Regions from separate parts of the Homo sapiens genome. Here regions 1 and 3 are each linked to region 2. Evidence: promoter capture Hi-C in 16 types of primary human blood cells and fetal thymus (Javierre and others, 2016). All regions are on one chromosome and are shown on one strand. The core of a region is centred on a gene start or on the middle of the fragment in contact, and the rest is flanking DNA. Distances in the headings are between cores, read along the strand shown. Region 1 has its middle 41 kb from the start of SNORD12. Region 2 holds the start of PTGIS (prostaglandin I2 synthase). Region 3 overlaps LOC105372649 (a long non-coding RNA gene).

Region 1 (3,772 bases), core at 745-3,244, 250 kb after region 2:
GCATGAGCCACGGGGCCCAGCCAAGGAATGTCTTTCTGCATTATCCAAACCCCGCTTTCTCCTCTGAACCACACTGCCCAGCCTCCTTACCATCTGCCCTCCTTATTGTCTACCAAAAGGATTTTCTAGAATACAGTTCTGGCCTGTTCCCTGAAATCCCTCAGTGGTTCCCATCTCCTATTGAGGGGGTTCACGAAGGATCTTTTTTGACAGTGGATCATAGATGGAGACCCCCAAGCTCAGTGGCTAAAAATCTACATTTTCCTGCAACTCATCCACAGTCATTTACCGTGCCCTCCTCCTATTCAACATCTCAGCACACTTTACCCAAAGTTTCCCAAAGCACGTGGTCTCCCACAGCTGAGTAGTACCCTCCCAGCCTCCTTTCCCCCATCTTCTGGGAATACCACCTCAGTTTTCTTCTGAGAAACCAAAACTCCCCACTCTCAATCCACATGGTTTGGACAGGGCTGATCGCACCCTCTCGTTCCTGGTATGAGGCAGGTGACCCCCACATGGCCAGTTGATATATTCCTTCTCCCTGGGTTCAGTGATTGATTGGGTCAGCAATGACCATTTAATCCAAACTGAGCCCATGAGAACCAGCCCTGGGATTTTGGCTGGAACTGGGGAAAAATGCTCTCAATCCATTAAGGATGGCAGTTTACAGCTACTGTCTTTGACCACTAGCTTTGCTACCACTTGGTGACAGCATGCCTGTAAATGAAGTTAACACAAGAAAAGCCGAAGAATGGAAAGAGATAGAGTCCTGATGACATCCTTGGAGCCCCTGGATCCAGTCATGCCTGAAGCTCTGGAATCCCTGGGTTGTTCTTTAGTTACCTAAGCCAATAAATATCCTTGTTAACTTAAGTTAAATTGTGTCACAACCCTAAGAGTACTAAGTCTACAGGAAACACATAAGTGTATATGTAGGGACATCAACCATACAGGGTTGAGATGATATTTAAGAAGTATAGAATACATGGAAACATTCTGTAAATAACTTGGAAAATACAGTGGTGTCTATCTTTCAAGGCCTTACTAATCACTCCAGCCCCACTCTCTCCCTGCCTCCACACCATCCTCACCAATCATTTCCAAGCTTCACCTTGCTCAGACTGAAATTATTTATTCCTTTCCCAACTACCTTGTCTCCCAAAAATAGACAATAAGCTTGAGGGGTACCAGAACTCCAGCCTTGCTTCCATCCCCCAGTGCTTCTAGCTGAATTGGGCACACAGAAGGTGGCCACCAATTGTAATTGAGGCTGGGTGTGGAGGCTCACACTGGTAATTCCAGCACTTTGGGAGGCCAAGGCTGGAGGATAGCTTGAGCCCAGGAGTTTGAGACCAGCCTGGAAAAGATGGTAAAACTCCATCTCTACAAAAAATACAAAAAAAAAAAAAAAAAAAAAAAAAAAAAGCTGGGTGTGGTGGCCCACACCTGTAGTCCCAGCTACTCAGGAGACTGAGGTAGGAGGATCACTTGAGCCTGGGAGGCAGAGGTTGCAGTGAGCCATGATTGCACCACTGCACTCCAGCCTGGGTGACACAGTGAAACCCTGAAAAATAAAAAGAAAGGAAGGAAGAAAGAGAGAGAGAAAAAGAAAAGAAAAGAGAGAAGGAAGGAAAGAAAGAAAAAGAAAAAAAAAGAAAATTTTAATTGAACTAAATGGGGAAGATGTCAAGGGGTCTCCTTACACCTGTAGACTCAAGCTTCCCTCTCCTAACATTCTTGAGTCTCTGCCACCCTTGAGCTGCTATACAATATTGAGATCTGGAGTCAGACTGCTGGAGTGCAAATCCCAGATCTGCTGTTTAAGAGCTGTGCAACCCAGAACACGTCACTTAACCTCTCTGTGCCTTAGTTCCTCATCTGTAAAACAGACATGATAACACTGTTCCATAGCGTTATTATGAGGCTTAAATGAGACAATTTACTTCAAGCACTTAAAATAGTACCTTCCTGACATTTGGTATTTCATAAATATTAGATTTGTTGTTTGCGGATTTTGTTTGTTTTTTAAGTCATCTTCAACATCTCCCTCTATTACAATTGATCACTTAAGGCAGTTGACTTTATCTCCTAAAAATAGCCCATGAAAAAAGCAAATACTTCTCTACATCTTTTGCCTCCTAACTAGTCCCCTCCTGCCTGCTCCCCTGGGAGGTGGAAAGTGAACTTTTCCCTGCGTCTCTTCACAAGACCCTGCTCCAGATAAGGAGGCAGATCCCAAAAGAGCAAAACAAAGGTGAAAGCAAAGCTTTGAGGCTCCTGGTTCCTCCAGCCCCCACTCCGTATAGAAAGGACATCTCTTGGGAGGGGCTAACATTGTGTGATTCTGTGGGTGTCGGTCAGACCATGAGAAAGTATCACTGATGCCTTTGCCTGGACCCATCCTGGGCCCCCACTCCTGCGCTGTGGCAGGGGAGCCCCTGTTGGTGGTGCTAACCTGGGACTTCAGCTCCAATCAGTACAGACCCGCGGCTGCATGAACTCTCTACACAGAAAACCAACCAGTACAAAAGCACCCCCAGGCAGTCCTTCCCCAAATTTAATCTGGAAGGAGTTCTCTTTTGCCTATGGCTTGAGAAGACACCACATCCAAAATTACTTTCTCATCTCACTGCTGCCTGAATTTCCAACGTTGGCCACTCCTGGCAGCAAGGAGCTAGAAGACTCAGAATCAGACCCAGCTCCTCCACTGGCTGGGAATTCTTGACTGCCCAAAGCCCTCTCCTCTCTGAGCCTTGCTTTTCTTGACTGCTAAACAGGGATGTTATTCCATACCTGAACCCCAGAGGGCAGGGAGAATGTATTCAGGTTCCAGGGGACATCCAGCCCAGCTTCTGGGCACAGAGGGATAGGTGATTAATGGATGTTAGGTCCCTTACATTTTTATTTATTTATTTATTTATTTATTTATTTTTGAGACATGATCTCGCTCTGTCACCCAGGCTGGAGTGCAGTGGCATAATCATAGCTCACTGCAGGCTCAACCTCCTGGGCTCAAGTGATTCTCCCACCTCAGTCTCCTGAGTAGCTGGTGCTACAGGCAGTCATCACCATTTGAGGCTAATTTTTTTTTAATTTTTTGTAGAGACTGGGTCTTCCAATATTGCCCAGGCTGGTCTCGAACTCCTGGCCTCAAATGATCCTCCCACAGCCTCCCCAAGTGTTGGGATTACAAGCATGAGCCACTGTGCCCGACCCATTATGCATTTTTTTAAAAGCGCCCTCTCTGTCTTTTAAAACAAATTTCTGAAGGAAGCTCTAGTGATATCACACGGTAGAGGGGCCCAATCAATCACTTTCCTCCCTGACATAGGAAAGTTGGGTCATAACCGTTTTACAGGGTGACAGAATTTAGATTTTTTTTTTGTCTCCAGTGGGTGTGAAAACTTTACTTCTGGGATTTAAAAAGGATAGAGAGCCAGACATGGTGGTGCGTGCCTGTCATCCAGCTACTTGGGAGGCTGAGGCAGAAGAATCGCTTGAGCCCAGGAGTTCGAGGCTGCAGTGAATGATGATCGCACCACGGCACTCCAGCCTGGGCGACAGAGCAAGGCTCCATCTCTAGAAGAAGGGAGTGGGGTGGCGGGGGGGGAGGGGATAGGCAGCGTCCTTCCCACTAATGACTCAACTAAAATAGCCCTTAATAGAGCGCTGTGGGTACCACTCTGGAGGAGCCTTTACCAGGAATGCTTGGACTAGCCCGGTGGCCACGCCCAGCACGCGGACCACAGATGGACTTCACCTGCGTATCTGT
Region 2 (3,735 bases), core at 263-2,762:
GGGAACAGCACGTGCAAAGGCCCTGCAGTGGGACCTCTAGGGAAAGATGGGGAGATCAGTGTGGCTGGAGCAGAGTGGGTGAGGGAGAGAGTCGGGGGCATAGGGTCAGGCAGGTAAAGGTGAGAAGGGGCGGATCATGCTGGTTCTCGAAGGGCCTTGTCAGGACCCTGGCTGATAAGGATGGAAGCCAGGAGACCAGGAGGAGCAACAGCTTCTCCAGAGCTCTGCTGGGACTATGGAATGAAACGTGCCTAAGCTCACCCGGCACTGAATGGGTGGATACAGGACTAGAACAAGACCTCCTGGGTCTTACCTCCAGGTTCAGCCCATGGTTTCATAAAACTTAGTGTGCCAAGCACTCAACAGTTTGTGATTCCTTTTAGTGTCAAGCTCTCATCACTTCCTCACAACAGCCCCAGAGGTAAGCACAACTCTGCCCTCCCTGTTTCCAGATAATGAGGTGAGCTCAGAGAGGTTGAGCTACCTGCCCAACGCTTCCCAGGGTGGGAATGGGGATGGTGGGGGCAGGGGCGTGGAGTGAGGCTGGATTGACCCCCAGTTCTCATCAGCACCCTGGGGTGGTACATTGCAGAGCCGCGGGCACAGGGGGCTGGCACCCCAAGCACCAGGTAGCGATGACAATGGCCACCACATCCGGAGGCCCTAACGTGCACCAGGTAGAGGGTGCATACTTCACGGGCACTATCTGTCCCCAAAGCAGGTGAGGATGAGGGGACTCCCTGAGACACCCTTGTACCCCCTGCCCAGTAGTTACTGAAGATACTATAGGGTGCGATATAATCCAGACCAGCCCTCCCAGCCCAGACCACAGAATGGAAAACTCCAGGTCCCCAGCACGCCTGGGGTGGGGGATGGGGTGAGGAGGAGCCTTGGGGGGTTTCCTCTGTCTAGGTGGAATGTGGAATGTGGTGGGAAAGCTCCTCCTGACCCCCTTACACTCCTCCTCCATGTTCGTCCCCTCCCACCACATTTTCTCCTCCCACTGTGCCCCCTCCTCCCCATACCTCCTTGGCTGTTTCCCCATCGTCCCGCCGTCTTCCCACATTCCCTCCTCTTCCCTTCCCCAAAAGTCCTCTCCCATCTTCCCCATCCCTCTTCCCTCCCCGCATATAATCTCTTCCTTCCTGTAAATCCTCTCCCTCTCCCCTCCCTTCCATCACCCCCCAGTCCACCACATCCCCCTCAGTCCCCCATCTATCTCCTTTCCCCTTGATCACTCCCCAGCCCACCACATCCCTTCCGCCCCCTCCCCCTCCCCCTCCTTCTCCCCTCCCCTCCCTCCCACATTTTCCATCAGGCCTGAGCTGGGGGGAGCAGGGTTTCTAACAGAGCGCCCCGGTCCGACCCCTGCGGACCTCGGAGGGCCCCATCCCCCACCCCCCCCACCCCGCCCCAAAGCGGGCTGGGGTGGGCGGAGTGGGAGGGGCGCGCCGGGTGGGGGCGGGGAACTTTACCTGGGAGTGGGCCAGGCCGCCAGCCCCGCCAGCCCCGCCAGCCCCGCCAGCCCCGCGATGGCTTGGGCCGCGCTCCTCGGCCTCCTGGCCGCACTGTTGCTGCTGCTGCTACTGAGCCGCCGCCGCACGCGGTGAGTGTCCTGCTCCGCTCGGCCCCGCCAGACAAAGGGGGCGGCTCCCGCCCGGGCTGCAGCCCAAGGGTCTCGGAGCCCGCGGCCGGCCCGGCCCGAGTCCCGCTCCAGTATCCCGGGCAAGGCGAGACCCTCGGAGGTGGGAGTCCCGGGGCCCCGCACGTGGGTGAGGGGGCCAGGCCGTGCTCCCCCTGCCAAGAAGGTGCAAGGTGGGAAGGTGCGGGGTCCGGTAGGTCCCCCGGGGCGAATCGCCCACCGCGACAAGTCCGAGTCTGGCCCTTAGCGCGACGGCAGGGACCTAGGAGGGGGTTTCAGGTGAGGACCGAGGGTTTGTGGGTGGGGAGCCGTGCGGGGACAGCCTCTGCGTGGCCCGGGTGGAAGAAGCGCTCTCCACTCTCCAGCCTCTGCCTGCACCTGGCACCCACCTACGCGCTGTCAAACCCTGCCTTGCTTTCGGCAGTCCTATAGGGATAGCCTCGCTCCTCAACCCATTACACAGATGGGAGTGTTGAGCCAGCGGAGTGTAGAGCCCCTGGGGGATGTCTTGATCATGCCCTGGAACCACCCACCCCGGGATTCCCCGTCTGGAAGACGGGGGTCGGTGGGCTTAGTAATTTCATTTGCCAGGGAGAAACTGAGGCCTATGAAGTCTCTACCTTCCCCTGAGGTCCCACAGCCTGGACAGAACGGAGCCAGGGTCAGATGTCACAGCCTCCTGGTCCCAAAGGTTTTCCAGCTCCATTGAGCATCTGTGATTTAGGAGAAAAAGTAAAGACAGCCTCAAATCAAGGAGATAGCTGTAGCTCTCCTTTTCATAAAATATTTTTTAAGTTAACTTGAATTGCATAAGGAATAGCTGAATACATTCGACTTAACACAAATATTTATCCTGTTATAGGTAAGACCGAAGCCCCTTAACCCTCCCCCAGCCCCTGAAGTCTAGTCCTCTCTCCCTCTCTGGGCCTCTCCTGTTGCTGAGTCTGGGTAGAACCTTCCATATTTAAAAAAATATACTTTTTATTTGAGACTAGTTTGGGATTTACAGAAAGTTGCAAAGATAGTACAAAAAGTTCCTGTATTTCTCTCACCCCGTTTTCCCTATTGTTAACATCTTACATTGTTATGGGACATTTGTCGCCACTAAAAACCAACACTGGTCCGTTACTCTTAACTAAACTTCAAACTTCACGGGATTTTATCCAGTTTCCCATTACTGTCCTCTTTTGTTCCAGGATCCGGCCCCAAGTTACCACATTGCCTTTAGTTTTCATACCTCCTCAGTCTCCCAGATGTTTTAAAAATTACTCTTACATAAAAATTACTCTTACATACATAGACATGAGCTTGTAGCTAATACAGAGCCACGTAAGAGAGAGTTAGTTTACATTCGTGTCTGAAAATTCCGGAAACCTTGGGAACTTTTTGATTTTTAAACAATATGGTAGTTGAATTTTCAAACAATAAGCTCACTGTATTTTTCTTCAACCTCCAGACATCTTTTCAGCTGAAATTTACAACTGTGTAGTCAATCATTTGCCTTAAAACAAGAAAAGAAAAAGACAGTGAATAAATGTCTCAGGGAAGAAATGAATTATTTTTCCTGTCAGGCTTTCTCAATACACTGTATAGAAATGTTTTCAGACATTATGTTGCTTGCTCTTTTCACTCCAGATTTTAGTTTTGACATCTGTTCTTTTTGCTACAAGCAGATCTTTTTGCTACAAGGAGATCGAATCCATTCTTTTGATCCTCTCTGGAGTCTTCCATCATGTGAATACGTTATGGGCTCTTTTTTTGTTTGTTTGTTTGTTTGAGATGGATCTTCCCTCTTGTTGCCCAGGCTGGAGTGCAATGGCACGATCTCGGCTCACCGCAACCTCTGCCTCCTGGGTTCAAGTGATTCTCCTGCCTCAGCCTCCCCAGTAGCTGGGATTACAGGCATGTGCCACCATGCCCAGCTAATTTTTGTATTTTTAGTAGAGACAGGATTTCTCCATGTTGGCCAGGCTGGTCTCGAACTCCTGACCTCAGGTGATCTGCCTGCCTCGGCCTCCCAAGGTGCTGAGATTACAGGCGTGAGTCACCGCGCCCTGCTGAGCCTTTGATTTTTATACCTGTGGGCACCTTGG
Region 3 (3,834 bases), core at 915-3,414, 220 kb after region 2:
GCTCTATAAATGAGCAAAGAGACTCAGTCCAAAGCCTCCAGGAGTGGTGGGGACAGTGGCGGATGTGGCCTGTATAGAGGACTCCAGCTCCAGCCCATGTGGCAGTGTGTGGGAATGCAGACTCACAGTGGCAAGATGTTCTAATTTTCTAAAATAAGCCAGACTGTTGTGTGAACTCTCCTGATTTTAAAACGTTGACTCTATTGTTATTTTAAATATCAGACGGTCAAATAAGACATAGCATCATTCTAGACCTCCAGATGAGACCAGCTGCATAATTTGTGGGGTCCAGTACAAAATGAAAATGCAGGGCCCCTTGTTCAAAAATTAAGAATGTCAAGCCAGCGACAGCAGAACGCTAAACCAAGCTCAGCATTCTTGTGAGTGTGGGGCCCTGTGCAAATGGCTGTGCATGTGCATGATGCCAGCTCTGCCTCAAACGTGGGCACTTCCTAAGAACTTGTTGAATTAAATGGAAGGAAGGGGCCGGGCACGGTGGCCCACGCCTGTAATCCCAGCACTTTGGGAAGCCAAGGCTGATGGATCACTTGAGGTCAGGAGTTCCAGACCAGCCTGGCCAACATGGTGAAACCCCGTCTCTACCAAAAAAAATACAAAAAATTAGTCAGGTGTGGTGGTGCATGCCTGTAGTTCCAGCTACTCAGGGAGCTGAAGTGGGAGAATTGCTTGAACCTGGGAGGTGAAGGCCGCAGTGAGCTGAGATTGCACCACTGTGCTCCAGCCTAGGCAACAGAGCAAGACCCTGTCTCTAAATAAATAAATAAATAAAGGGAAGGGAAAAAGGAAGGAAAATGAACATGTGTTGGCACCTACTATGCATCAGACATAGCTTTATAAAATAGCAACACTTTATAAAGCACTCACCACGTGCCAGGCACCGTAGGCATTAATGCATTTAAACCTCACAAGATGGTGCTCTTGTGAATCCCATTTTCCAGATGAGGAAATTGGGACTCAGGGAAGTAAAGCCACTTGGTCACTGCTAATACTGGGGTAGCAAGGGGTGAGGGAGAACAAATGGAAAAAATAAGAGGAAGACCAAGGCAAGAGGAAAAGAAGCCACCCCAAGCCTGTCTCCCAAGCTGGGCTGCACTCAGGTCTCTGCCAAGACCGCGTGGAATTTGGGGAGGCCGCCACACCCCGGAGAAGGGCCCGTGGCATTTCTGAATCACGGTGCCATCCGCCCCGGTTTGGCTTCTCTCCGGCGATCCAATTACTAAATGTAGCCGCATTCTTTAAAAATGTCTTTCCTCTTATGTAATGCAATAGTGACAAACGCCAAACAGATGGTGCTGTGACAAGCTTTTTAAAAGTTGATTAGGAGCTCATCTTTCAAAATTAATGTATGGGCATTTAAACAAGCTCCAGCCGGCCACAAAACTCAATTGAGAATCCATATGGGACAAATCGCTTGATGGACTGGCTACATTGACCACCTTCCCGGCCAGGGTTTGACGTGAAAAGTTTGGGGAATGGTAATAGCACGGGTCACGTTGACTTGTGAGCAATGGGCAAAAGATACCTGGTTTGGGCAGAGGGGAAAAATGCCTTGGGCCTCCCAAAAGCCCAGGAGGCTGGAGCCTCCTCAATCTATTTACCAAGACTTTTTTATTTTTTTTTTCAAAATTGTACATTGTCTTCGAGAGAGCGGACCGTCTCTCCCTGCCTCGGGAGGGAAGCGGGTTAGTCATAAACTATGTCAGATGCTGCCAGCGAGCAGCTTCACCCCCACCCTTTCTTCCTCAGTGTTCAGGGATGAGATCATTTCATTTGGAGCCAATTATAGACGGAGAATGCTGGGGATGTGCAAAGAAACCTCCTCAGAACCCTTCCCTCCCACATCACAGGCTGTACCCTGCCAGGATGGGCAAGAACAAGAGGCCAGGCGCCCAGCCCCAGGTTCGACCCCAGGGTTTCTGAAGGCCATGCATTCCTAAGCCTTAGCTTGGACCTGTCAAGCTAGGATGCCAGGCTGTTGGCTAGACAAACCCTGTTGGCCTCAAAAGTTCAGGGCTGTATGGGCCCTTAAAGATCATCGCTGTTCAGATGAGGAAACTGAGGCTCAGAGAAGGGAAGTGGCTTGCTCAAGGTCCCATGGCAAGTTGGCAGCAAAGCCACAGAGATGAATGGTGGCTTCTCTGCCACCCACGAGGAGGATGTCTGTGGCCTGAAACATTCCCAGCATCCATTCCCATTGCTTCTGATACAAGGGTCCCGAGTTTTCCTTCTTGGTTCACGTGGTTCAAGTAGGACTGACCATGCCTCCACTTCCAAGGATATGCACCTGACCCAGCACCGGCCAATCAAAACAGTGCATTCCCCCACCCTCCCCCCACCCATTGATTCAGGAATATGAACCAGGGGTGTGAGATGAGCCTGGTCAATAAGCAGCAACCCCAGACCTGTAGCTGAGACTGAGACCATTGGAAGTGAGATGCTGTCTTCAGCTTTGTGATGCAGAATGGGGAGGAAGAAAGCCTAGAGCTGCTGGCAGCCATTAGTGCCACCACAGGATGCCTACCTAAGCACAAAGTCAACAGAGAGGAGAGCAAGGCCAAAAGAAAGTGAGGCAGTGGCTTCAACCTTTAAACCCCTGGATCCAGCCATACCTGAAGGCAGTCTTATCCTGGATATTTTCTTTACATGAGTCAATAAATTATCCTTGCTCGAGCTGGTTGAGTTCTTTCACTCATTTCCCAAAGGGCCTTGACTGATAGACTTGGAGGTCCTCAGGTGTAGGACAAGGCTCCAAAACATAACACTGAGTGCTCCTCGTCTCCATCCCCAACACATTGCTGGCCTCTTCCCCAGAAGATTCCCTAAGTCCCTGCACAAGTTCCAGCAACACACTCCAAAGGGAGTACCCAAGGTAAATGTCCCATTTTATGGTACGCAAGAAACGGCTCTGCCTTCTGGGTACCCATAACCAAGCTGCTCCCCACCACAGCCTCTGCCTTCCTATTTCGTCAAGAGCACAAGCTTTGCAGTCCAGTTCAAAGCCCAGCTCCAACGTTTCCTAATCATGAGAACTTGGACAAGTCATGTGACTATCCTGAAGCTCAGTTTCCCATCTGTGAATGGGGAAAAGATCACCTACTTTACACGATCCATGAGAGGATTAAAACAGGCACCACCACTATTTAGAGGCTGAAAAAATGGGTAGCTACCAAGAGCTACAAAAAGTCTATCCTGCAGAGCTGGGGCAATTGTCGAGCACGGTGTGTTTGGGAAGACAGCACCTACACACATCAAATGATTTCCACCTAAAACAGCTTCCTGCAGCCAAAACAAGTGTACGGGTAGAGGCAGGGAATGCTGGCTGTGGGGTACGAGTCGGACAGCCCCTTGCTGGCCTCGTGGCCATCTGCTTCTTTCTCCCCTCCGCTGCCCCTTGGCCCAGGATTCTCGCCCCAGACCAGCACACACAGGTGCTACTGACATTCTCACCCAGTGATTCATTCACACTCCCAGAGAGCAGCAACAGACAGTGATTCCCAGGAGCGTCCAGAGTCCTGATTTAGGAAGGAGGATAGAGTAGCAGTAACATTTGAACAAGTTCCTGCCCAGTCCCAAGGACAGCTGAAAGATAAACCTCCTGCTCCAACCCCACCGCAGGGAAGCCTGAACCTGCCCGCTTAGAACCAGGAAGAGATTGAGCTATGATTCCCCCAAAAGGTTCTTTATTCATTACAGCGGCGCTTCCTGAAGCGGGGGACTCACATTTTAGGTCGTTTTACCCGAACCCAGGATGTAGCATTAAATAACTGACTCCAGTACTGATCCAGGCTACAAGATGGGAGAACCTTGAAAACA

What was found. The method cuts DNA at HindIII sites, captures the fragments that hold promoters and counts their contacts. A CHiCAGO score of 5 or more calls a contact.
Region 1: a contact is called between a fragment that was not itself captured here and the fragment with the promoter of PTGIS in region 2, in 1 of 17 cell types (endothelial precursors). The highest score is 5.4, in endothelial precursors.
Region 3: a contact is called between a fragment that was not itself captured here and the fragment with the promoter of PTGIS in region 2, in 3 of 17 cell types (M2 macrophages, M0 macrophages and M1 macrophages). The highest score is 7.0, in M2 macrophages.

Annotation. Positions count from the first base shown.
Region 1 is chr20:49,319,599-49,323,370 of GRCh38, reverse strand. No RefSeq gene overlaps it. Among named protein-coding and RNA genes, the nearest start is that of SNORD12, 41 kb to the right of the region's middle. RefSeq lists an enhancer at 3,754-3,772. The HindIII fragment of the contact is 548 bases long and covers 1,721-2,268 here.
Region 2 is chr20:49,565,914-49,569,648 of GRCh38, reverse strand. It overlaps PTGIS (prostaglandin I2 synthase), which reads left to right and starts at 1,512. Exons shown (of 10, transcript NM_000961.4): 1 at 1,512-1,606. The coding sequence starts at 1,533. LOC101927486 (a long non-coding RNA gene) reads right to left here and starts at 1,605. Exons shown (of 2, transcript XR_244188.4): 1 at 1,476-1,605. RefSeq lists enhancers at 1-595, 596-1,212. The HindIII fragment of the contact is 14,656 bases long and covers 1-3,735 here.
Region 3 is chr20:49,343,130-49,346,963 of GRCh38, reverse strand. The region is part of intron 2 of LOC105372649 (a long non-coding RNA gene); the gene reads right to left. Among named protein-coding and RNA genes, the nearest start is that of SNORD12, 64 kb to the right of the region's middle. The HindIII fragment of the contact is 1,677 bases long and covers 1,326-3,002 here.